2 separate regions of the Homo sapiens genome follow, and region 1 is linked to region 2. The links are contacts of gene promoters, found by promoter capture Hi-C in blood cells and fetal thymus (Javierre and others, 2016). All regions are on one chromosome and are shown on one strand. The core of a region is centred on a gene start or on the middle of the fragment in contact, and the rest is flanking DNA. Distances in the headings are between cores, read along the strand shown. Region 1 has its middle 15 kb from the start of LINC02318. Region 2 holds the start of TCL1A (TCL1 family AKT coactivator A).

Region 1 (5,563 bases), core at 1,045-3,544, 160 kb before region 2:
GTCCTTCGGAAAGACGCCTGACCTCTGTGCCACGTGGTAACCCCAACCCTCATCAACACACAGTAGGGAGACTGCGGAGGGATTGTTTTGTAGCAGGACATTGAGCAAATTGCTTCTCTTCTCTGCCTTTCAAAGACATCTGGATTTTCATTTATTTATTTTTGAGACACCGTTTCACTCTGTCCCCGAGGCTGGAGTGCAGTGGTGCGATCTTGGCTCACTGCAACCTCTGTCTCCCAGGTGCAAGGGATTCTCCTGCCTAAGCCTCCCGAGTAGCTGGGATTACATGCAGGTGCCACCATGCCTGGCTAAGTTTTGTATTTTTAGTAGAGATGTGGTTTCCCCATGTTGGCCAGGCTGGTCTCAAACTTCTGACCTCAAGTGATCCGCCCATCTCGGCCTCCCAAAGTGTCAGGATTACAGGCATGAGCCAGCGCACTGGGCCTATTTATTTAATATTTACATTTGAAGACTTTACCCAGTGTTGACTAATGGTAGCAGAGTTGGCCACTAGAGATACTGATTTAAAGCAGGAGCTTGGGCTGAACCCAGCTGAGAACTAAGAGCTGAAATGAACTTATACTAGCTAGTTGAACTCCAACTCTCATGGAACCGCTTTTTGTGTTTCTAAGTATAAGGGAAAACACTGCTTCCCATTTTTTCCCAATGGGAGGACTTTTGAAAACGTTTTGATAGTTTAAATATAAAAACCTTTATGGATGTGGATGACATAGTCAACTATATTAAATATATGGTACACCAACTATGTTAAATGTGTTTTAACACACGCTTAACATTTTACCAATGAGAGCATTGAGGAACAGAGAAGATGTGTAACTTGACCAGGGACACACAGCTGAAAAAGCGGAAGAACTAGAAAATATAAGGCCAGGCAATTGGCGCTGGAGCCCACAATCTATTAATTTAGCTACATTTAATATATCATCAAGTAATACATTTATTTACAAATGTTGCTTTTCTTCTCAGCTTGTGAAACAACTACTAAAATGCTCTGCTGGAATTTTCAGCATCAGTGTCTCTCATGACTGGAGCACTTTTTGAGCTCTGCCACAAGTTTCCAAGAGCAGCGCTTCTCAAACTTCTCAAACGTGATTGTGCATGTGACTCACCTAGGGATCTAATTCAAATGCAGATTCCTACCGCGCATGTCTAACAAGCTCCCAGGTGTCTCCGCTACTGCTGCTGGTCCACACACCACAGCATGAGAATCAACGTCAAGAGTGCCTTTCCTTGACTTTTTTGAGACAGGGTCTTGCTGTGTTGCCCAGGCTGGGGTGCAGTGGTGTGATCTCTGCTCACTGCAACTTCCGCCTTCTAGGCTCAAGCGATCCTCCCGCCTCAGCCTCCTGAGTAGCTGGGATTACAGGTGCACACAACCACGCCCGGGTAATTTTTTGGTATTTTTGGTAGAGACAGGGTATTGTCATGCTGCCCAGGCTAGTCTCGGCTGCCCAGGCTGCTCCCGAGCTCCAGCGACCCACCCGCCTTGGCCTCCCAAAGTGCTGAGATTACAGGCAGGAACCACTACACTCAGACTACCTTTACTTTTATTTAAGTTTTCTGAGCTGGAGCAGTTTTGAATCCATGTATGACCACTTCCATGAGCATTTTATCTTAAGCACATTAGGACACTGAATTTTTTTTTCTGTAGGTGTTTAACCATGGTCTCTATGATGTAACTACCCATCGATTTGCTTTTTAAAGTGATCTTTAAAAGGCTTGTTTACCGTATGAAAGAATGCTCAACATCACTAATCATCAGAGAAATGCAAACCAAAACCACAATGAGGTATCATCTCACACCAGCCAGAATGGCTATTATTAAAAAGTCAAAAAACAACAGATACTGGCCAGGCTGCAGAGAAAAGGAAACCCTTATTGGTGGGGATGTAAATTAGTTTACATTGTTTGGTGGGAATGCAAATTAGTTCAGCCACTGTGGAAAACAGTTTGGAGATTTCTCAGAGCATTTAAAACAGAACTACCATTCCACCTAGCAATCCCATTACTGGGCATATATCCAAAGGAAAATAAATCATTGCACCAAAAAGACACATGCACTTGTATGTTCATCACAGCACTATTCACGATAGCAGAGATATGGAATCAACCTAGGTGCCCATCAAAGGTGGATTGGATAAAGAAAATGTGGTATATATACACCATGGACTACTATGCAGTCATAAAAAAGAATGAGATAATGTCCTTTGCAGCAACCTGGATGCAGCTGGAGGCCATTATACCAAGTGAATTAATGCAGAAACAGAAAACCATATACCACATGTCCTCACAAATGGAAACTAAACATTGGGTACATATGGATGTAAACAAGGAAACAGTAGACACTGGAGACTACTAGAAGCGGGGAGAGGGAGTCGGGAAAGGGCTGAAAAACTACCTATTAGGTACTATGCTCAGTGATGGAATCATTCCTACCTCAAACCTCAGTGTCATTCAATATATCCGTGTAACAAACCTGCACATGTACCCTCCCAATCTAAAATAAAAGTTGAAATTATATATAAATATAAAAATATATATGTATATATAAATATAAAAATATATACATATGTGTATATAAAAATATATACGTGTGTGTGTGTGTATATATATATATATATTTTTTTTTTTTTGAGACGGAGTCTCGCTCTGTCACCCAGGCTAGAGTGCAATGGTGCTATCTCAGCTCACTGCAACCTCCACCTCCTGGGTTCCAGTGATTCTTTTGCCTCAGCCTCCTGAGTAGCTGGGATTACAGGCATGCACCACCACACCCGGCTAATTTTTGTATTTTTAGTAGAGACAGGGTTTCACCATGTTGGTCAGGCTGGTCTCGAACTTCTGACCTCGTGATCTGCCCGCCTGGGCCTCCCGAAGTGCTGGGATTATAGGCATGAGCCACCGCGCCCTGCCGAAATTCTATATTTTTTAAAAGGCTTATTTACAATGTCGTTCAACATTCCAGCTGGGATTACTAGCTGTATCTGGTTTAAACGTGTTTGGCCAAACAGCTCACCTTGAGGTCATTTCAGGCTAATGTGGCTTCCCCAGAAAGACTGTAGTTATTTAAACTAAAGTAATTGAAAGAGTGCCCAGTTATGTAAGAATCTGGAAAGATTAAACAATAAGCACCTATTCTTTTCAAGAGATAGTCTTGGGAAACGTGAATCTTGCTGATGCAGGCCTTTTGCTTACAGAACTCAGCTGGGCCATGCACTGGCTGTGCCCCAGCCCCCGTGGCTTCTTTCTCACGCTGTCAGGCTTGGACCCACCCTCTGCTCTTGTTCCTTCTCTTTGGAAATTCTTCTTTCCTACACATCTACCTTCTTCTCATGATTCAGATCTTAATTCAAAGAGGTCTTTTCTATTGTCCTGGCTGGAGAGCAAACCCCAGCTTATTCCACCAGAACCCCAGTCAGTATCATCTTTTTTTTGTTTTTTTTTGAGACGGAGTCTCACTCTGTCACCCAGGCTGGAGTGCAGTGGCATGATCTCGGCTCACTGCAAGCTCTGCCTCCCGGGTTCACTCCATTCCCCAGCCTCAGCCTCATGAGTAGCTGGGACTACAGGCGCCTGCCACCACGCCCAGCTAATTTTTTTTTTTTTTTTGTATTTTTAGTAGAGATGGGTTTCACCATGTTAGCCAGGATGTTCTTGATCTCCTGACCTCATGATCTGCCCACCTCAGCCTCCCAAAGTGCTGGGATTACAGGTGTGAGCCACCGCGCCTGGCCCAGTATCATCTTTTATTCTTCTTCCTTCTTCATGACATTTACCAATACCTAAAACGAGCTTGTATACAAATGCATGTATGTACACAAGCATGTATGTATATAACTACATGTGTGTGTGAGAGATGGTACAGCATGTTTACCTTTTGCCAGAATGCAACTTCCAAAAGGGCAGAAACTATGTCTGTCTTATTTTTCTAAGGGCTTAACACTATTTATTGAATAATTAACAAAAGCTCATTCCTTAGACTGTTTAGGATGCCATAACAAAATACTGTAAGCTGGGTGGCTATAAAACAACAGAAATTTTGGCCGGGTGTGGTAGCTCATGCTTGTAATCCCAACACTTTGGGAGGTTGAGGCAGGCAGATTGCTTGAAGCCAGGAGTTCAAGACTAGCCTGGACAACATGGCGAAAACCTGTTTCTACAAAAAATACAAAAATTATCCGGGTGTGGTGGTGCATGCCTGTAGTCCCAGCTTCTTGGAAGGCTGAGGTGAAGGGATTGCTTGAGCCCAGGAGGTGGAGGTTGCAATGGGCCATGACTGTGCCACTGCACTCCAGCCTGGGCAACAGAGCAAGACTCTGTCTCAAATATATATATATATTTCTCACAGTTCAGGAGGCTGGCAAGTCCAAGATCAAGGCCCCGGCTGATTTGGTGTTTAGTGAGGACCCACTTCCTCATAGCTAGCGGCTTCTTCCTATGTCCTTGCATGGTAGCAGGGATTAGGGTGTCTTTGCGGTCCCTTTTATAAGGGCACTAATCCCTCTGCTGAGGATTGCACCGTTACGACCTGATCACCTCCCATAGGCCCCATCTTCTAGTACCATCACCCTTGGGGTTAGTTAGGATTTCAACATAGGAATTTAGGGCAGACACAAACATTCGGACCACAGCAGGTTGCTTTTGGTTTTGTTTTCAATGCTAAGTGGATCAAATCCTTGCATAGTCTGAAATTTTACTCCAAAAGGTAAAATATCAGGCTAGCATTTCTTTGAGATGGCCTGTTCTAAATGCTTTTGTTCTGGTCTGACACAGTCATATCATGGGAAACCAGCAGATGGCGCTGCTTCTCCGGGAATGAGCCCCGTTATTGCAGGTGGCCTCCATCTGGCTCCCTTCTGCCTGCAGGTGCACTTCTTATGCTTCGCCACCACGCGGAGCCGCGTTCTGCACTCTCCACCTTCCCTAAGTAAATTCTCTATGTGAAAAACAAATCAGGGAGATTTCTCTATGTCCCCAGGTAGAGCCCGAGTCCCGTACATTCCACATTTTTTCTGACCTTGCATCCTTCCCATCATTTCAAGGGCCCGAGGGAGAGCGTTTGGGCTCCAGACAACACAATCATATCAGAAACGTCGAATGTGTCCACATCCATTTTTTTTTCTCTCTGGAAATGCTCCCTTTAATAGGCCAGAATAGGGCTTCGAGCTGTCCTAGAGAGAGGGGCAGGAATTTGGGCACTGAAGACCAGAATCAGAACCTGGCTCCCATTTACCTTGGACAAACCACTCAAGCTCTCGGAGCCTCAGTTTCCTCATCGGTAAAAAGGAGAAAATAATAGTGCCTCCTATCAAAGAATAAATAAAAGACATAGGTAATATAATAAGCCAATTAATTTGCTTATCTATGAGGGAAACAAATGATAGATTGACTTCTACATGGGTAGGATTTATATAGGAGACACAAGAGAGAGGGAAAAAGGCAAAAATTGAAAAATCCCAGACAGTTGGGGGTAGCCAACTTTGTTTTCCTTTCCTTAGTTGGGATGTGGAGTAGGTGGTATTCAAAGTATCCTCCCCTTGGG
Region 2 (5,300 bases), core at 430-2,929:
GCTTCTCCAGGCGCAGAAAACCGGAATCCCTCCTGCCAGCCATCCACCCATCTGGGCAGGGGTCCGAGTGTGAAATGATGGTCATCACTGTTCCCTGAAGCTCACTTCCTTAGGCCATGCATGCTCCTCTCAGGGACTCTGGCTGGGCCAGGACCACCAGCACACACACGTGTCTAGCCACCCAGACAGGGCCATGAAAGGCACACTTTTTTCTGGCGGGTTGCAGCGGCTCACACTTGTAATTCCAGTGCTTTGGAAGGCAGAGGCAGGAGGATCGCTTGAGGCCAGGAGTTTAAGACCAGCCTGGGTCACAGAGCGAGACCCTGTATCTACAGGAAAAAAAAAAAACAACAAAGAAAGAAAGAGAGAAAAAGAATACTGGCCTTTTCAATGATGTGAGGCAAAATCTGTCCCACAGTTTGCTAGTGGGTTATTTTTTGTGGAGCATGTATCATGATTTTATGAAAAACTGTCTGGTTCGTGGTTTTGGTGTCACGTTGAAGAAGAGATTTCTCAGAGATTTAAAAAAAGAAATCCACTGAATCTTCAAATTATTTCTTCAAATTTTGATTTTAAAAAAGTAAGTATTTAACTTGATTTTTAAAGTAAAAACATATTTAAAAAATTGAAATGCCAATAAAAATGCAGATTTTGTGGTGGTTAAGAGCCTAGAATTCCAACCCCATTACCTACTAGCAATCTTACCTCGGACAAATGTACATTTTTGTGCCTCAGTTTCCCATCTGTAGAGACACAGTCAACACTCAATAATTTTTGATTGCTACTGGACATACGTGTTCTAATATATTTTTTAATTTTTATGCTTTCTTCAGTGTATGTTTGGAGAGAGTTTGAACATTTTTTGACTCTTTTTCATTGAGTAAATCCAAATACTTGTAAAAGACTTATCTATTTCTTTAACAAAAACTTAACATGGATTAAGGACCCATCTTAAGGCATCACACATTAAAAAAGTCAATATTGATTCAATACCGGCGCTTATACTACGACATCACTTGTTAAATTTGTTTTCTAAATAAAGCCCAGAGGTAGTGGAAAATACTTCACACTCTAGGCCAGTGTTTGCTATGCCTGGTTGACCCTAAACTGTTGAGGGTTCTTTTTAAAAATACAGATTTCTGGGACCCACCTGAGATGATTCCGATAATCGGCCATATGGATGAGTCACTTAGAGATACCCATTTTTAAGGATTAGGACCCCGAAGCCCAGAAAATGCCTGCTGTAGTCAACATTATAGTCACACTCCACAGGCACTGGGTCCACCCCTTTGACCGACATTCCTTTGCGGTTTTCCCACCCTTCTTCCCTGCCTGGAGAACTCCTATTCATCCTCCAGAGCCCGGCTCAAAGTGGCTTCATCTGTGGGGATCCTCCCTGCCCCATAGTGAGTGCTCCTTGAGTCCTCGCCCTTCCTAGGGCATCCCAAGCTCCCAGGGGCTGCCCCTGCTGCCTCGCCATCCGCTCCAAAGCTGGCTGTACCTCGATGGTTAAGGGCAGCCAGGCGTGCTGCTTCTCGTCCAAATACACGAACTTCTCCCAGGCCCACAGGCGGTCCGGGTGGTCGGTGACTGCCTCCCCGAGTGTCGGGCACTCGGCCATGGCGTCCTCGGGCCGCCTAAGAAGCAAGAGCCAGAGCCTCTCAAGGCCGCTCGCTGGTCCCTGGGATGTGGGGCCGACCCTTTATATCCGGGCAGCATGCGGCCGCCACCAAGCGGCGGGGCGGGAGGACGGCCTTGGGGCGGGACCCCGGGTCGGGAGAACGACCTTGGGGCGGGGCGTAAGGCAGGATGGGGCGGGGTTTGTGGGGGTCTTGGTGGCAAGTGAGGGTCCCGCGCAGGCGCTACGTCCCGGCCTGACTTGCTCCCTGGAACGGTGGCAGCTCCTGGGAACGCAGACCCGGCCCCAGCTGGCCCGCGCCTTCCTCGAGGCCCCGGCCAGCAGCGACACCGACCGCCGCCCTCTGCTGCTGCTGGAGAGGCACCGGGGTGACCTTGGCCCTTTCTTCTTCTGGAAGACCCCCCCGCTTCCCTCGGCTGCCGGACCGGGACTCTGGGCCTCTGCTGGGAACTCACAGTCGACACCAGGATGCCCAGAGCCAGGACCCACTCCTCATCTTATGGGATCAGAAGAGACCCGCGCGGGCCTGAGTTAGGCCTGGGCTTTCCCGGGTTCCCTGGATCTCCACCAGCCTGTGCCTTTGAGTGTCAGAGTACGTTTTTTGGCAAAGGACAACTCCTGACGCTCCCTCTCCCTCTTCCATACACAAAGCATGCGTTTTCCACAGGTCTGATGTGCTGTGGACATCTAATAGCTATTACAAAATGGAGAATCATGGGTTTTTGCCCTTGGGCTTTGAGTTTACTAGTGAAAGCATAGTTCGAAATGAATACTTAAAAAGAAATCCCTCCTTCCACCCTAAGATCAATGGATTTGAAAAGTGCCTGGTTTATATGATCAAAACCACCCCTCTGTAAATTACAAGCAATAAGGAAAACAATTTCACTTTATTTTGCAGTAACGCATTCCCACTAAGGCAATTAAGAAAGTCATGCACAATGAAAAACATGTGAAACCAGCTCCAGCCTGGTTCAAACATCACCATGGGATGGAGTTTGGTGTCTCATCTTCCAGCTCTTTCCCAGTTCTCTGACCAGGCACTAAGAACATAATTTGTGATCCTTTGAAATATCACCAAAGTGGAAATTAAGAGATCTGATGAGGACATCTGATTCACCTGGCAGCTGGGTATCTGCCTCTTTGCCTATCCAGAGAGCCTAATTCCCAAGAAGGGGCTGAGAGGGCCTAAGGTAGTCGAGACATAATGGGATTTACCAGGAACACAACATAGAAGAGAAAAGCCAAGGGAAGTTGGGGGTGGAGTGAGGGCCCTTGAGCTCAGCAAACCTCTTTTCCACTGTAGCCCTTAGTGGTGTTAATATTTAATATGCAAACTTAAAGGTTTCATGCTGATTTTCCTGTGAATGGCTCTTGACTCCAGACCTAGATAGCCACAGAGCAAGATGACAAGCTCGCTAATAAGCTCTGTTGGGGAGGTCTCAGCCCAGGCCAGAGCTGTGAAGTGAGAAATAAGTCCAGTTTAAATAGTGCTGCTGGGATGGACTTTTGTGGCCAGGGAAGGGGTACCCAGGAGCCAGTGTGGCCACTGACCCAGCCTCATCAATGGCCCTAGGATCCAGAATGCCACAAACAATGGAGCAAGAATCAGATCTGTGTGTCTGGGTAAGCAGAATGTTCTGAGAATATAATTCCTTTTTCCTTCTTTTGTAAGAACAATTTATTTCTTCAGTTTTGCATGAGGGCTTCTTAATATTGAGCAAGAATATACATCATTATTGCGTGAGATTTAGAAAATTATTTGAGAGAGGGTTCCAATAAATGAAAATGAATTAAGGATGTCTGTGGAGTTCATTGGGCAACTTATAGAGCCCTTGAGCTTTTTTAAGTGAACATTCCACAAGAGGGGAAACAGTAGCTATTGCATAGTCTCAGAGCTGTCTCTGAGCCTCCGTGGCATGTTATCTGCCCCATCTAAGGGTTATAAAGGCCATAAGCCTAGCTTTAGAATTTTATGTTCCTTTCCAAGTCTTTGTTAGTCTGATTTCCCTGAGGATAAGCAAATGGATGTTTCACACAGAAAGCTACAGGAAGCAATCATTTTGACAGAATCCTTAATGGATGCGTTCATGTCCTGATTTAGATCTAGTTTTGCCTTTACCACGATCACCTGTGAACTTGACAAATCCTTTGCAACTTGGCCTCAGTGCCATAGTTTTGTAATGAATGGGGCAAAATACCTGCTCTCTAAGCTTGTTTCTAACTCAGTAGGCCCCAATCCTCCTATAACATTGCCTAGTGGGAGGAGGGAATAGTTAAGAAAAGAGATGGACAAAATATATGATGTTAGTTCAGGAATGCCTACAGTTTTTGGTACAGTGGCTGTAGATCAAGGACCCCAGTGGAATTCATGGGAGCCATTCTTCTTGTTTGGGTTCCAAAGAAGGGGTTGAGGAGTAGTCAAGGCCATCAGGATGACCTTGACTCAAAGTGTTGTCCCTGGACCAGCTACAGTAGCATCACCTGGAGCTCGTAAGAATGACAGAATCTGGAGCCTCCCCCAAGACTACTGAGTCAGAATCTGTATTGGAACAAGACCCCCAGGTGATTCACGGGCATGGTAAATGTTGGGCTATATGGAGGGAGGGTCAAGAGGGAGAGATAGGGGGTGTCTGATTCAACACACCAGTGCCCTCCAGATTTCTCCAACTATGACACAGGACTTATATCGGTGTTTGTGTATCATTTACTTCCAGGCTATCTTATTTTCTGCCAAAATCACCTCTAATATATAGAGTGTTTTCCTCTTAAAAGAAAATCCTAGTAACCAAGGTCATCCTCACCAACCCTGGGGTCCTTGATTGTCAATGATTATAGCAAGCTGGAAAGAGCCTATTTAGAGGCTACTTAGGTGTTTAGGCCTTTGGGCCCTATGATGACTGAGCCTAAACCACTAAGAATCACCTGGGAAGCTTTAATGAAACACCTGCGCCTGGATCCCACTCCAAACCAATTACATCAGAATCTCCGAGATTGAGGCTTGAGAAAAGTAGGTGATGCTAACACGTAGGCAGGGTTAAGTACAATTTCTCTAAGATCTGAGTGACTGTTTTTGACGTGTGCACAGATTTATAAATCTAAATAACTACGAAAATGTCAAAGCTATTCTTTCTACCATCAATTCTCATTGTAAACTTCACCCCAACTCCATATTTTACTTCTTTCCCTTTGCCCTACTTTGCTGCTTCCAATCCTTCGTGGTCAGGGATCCATAGCCCTAAGTTTATTGGAATCATAAGGGTCTGAGATCTTGCTAATGTGTAAAACACAGAATCTGTGATATATATGTAGCTATTAAGGCATCCATGCCTGGAGTGTTTTGTTTGTTTGTTTGTTTTTTGAGACAGAGTTTCCCTCTTGTTGCCCAGGCTGGAATGCAATGGTGTGATCTTGGCTCACTGCGACCTCCACCTCCTGGGTTCAAGCGATTCTCCTGCTTCTGCCTCCCGAGTAGCTGGGATTACAGGTATGCGCCACCACGCCTGTCTAATTTTGTATTTTTAGTAGAAATGGGGTTTCTTCATGTTGGTCAGGCTGGTCTTGAACTCCTGACCTCAGGTGATCCTCCCACCTCGGCCTTCCAAAGTGCTGGGATTACAGGCATGAGCCACCGTGCCCAGCCTGTTTTTTTTTTTGTTTTTTT

Evidence for each region. Contacts are between HindIII fragments. The CHiCAGO score rates a contact against its expected background, and 5 or more counts as called.
Region 1: a contact is called between a fragment that was not itself captured here and the fragment with the promoter of TCL1A in region 2, in 2 of 17 cell types (naive B cells and total B cells). The highest score is 6.7, in naive B cells.

The regions. Positions count from the first base shown.
Region 1 is chr14:95,556,271-95,561,833 of GRCh38, forward strand. No RefSeq gene overlaps it. Among named protein-coding and RNA genes, the nearest start is that of LINC02318, 15 kb to the right of the region's middle. RefSeq lists an enhancer at 1,402-1,901. The HindIII fragment of the contact is 8,364 bases long and covers 1-5,563 here.
Region 2 is chr14:95,712,446-95,717,745 of GRCh38, forward strand. It overlaps TCL1A (TCL1 family AKT coactivator A), which reads right to left and starts at 1,680. Exons shown (of 4, transcript NM_021966.3): 1 at 1,502-1,680. The coding sequence starts at 1,621. It overlaps LOC107984703 (a long non-coding RNA gene), which reads left to right and starts at 3,038. Exons shown (of 3, transcript NR_148060.1): 1 at 3,038-3,262; 2 at 5,026-5,123. RefSeq lists enhancers at 1-40, 81-300, 1,415-1,464 and a silencer at 1,695-1,934. The HindIII fragment of the contact is 7,267 bases long and covers 1-3,847 here.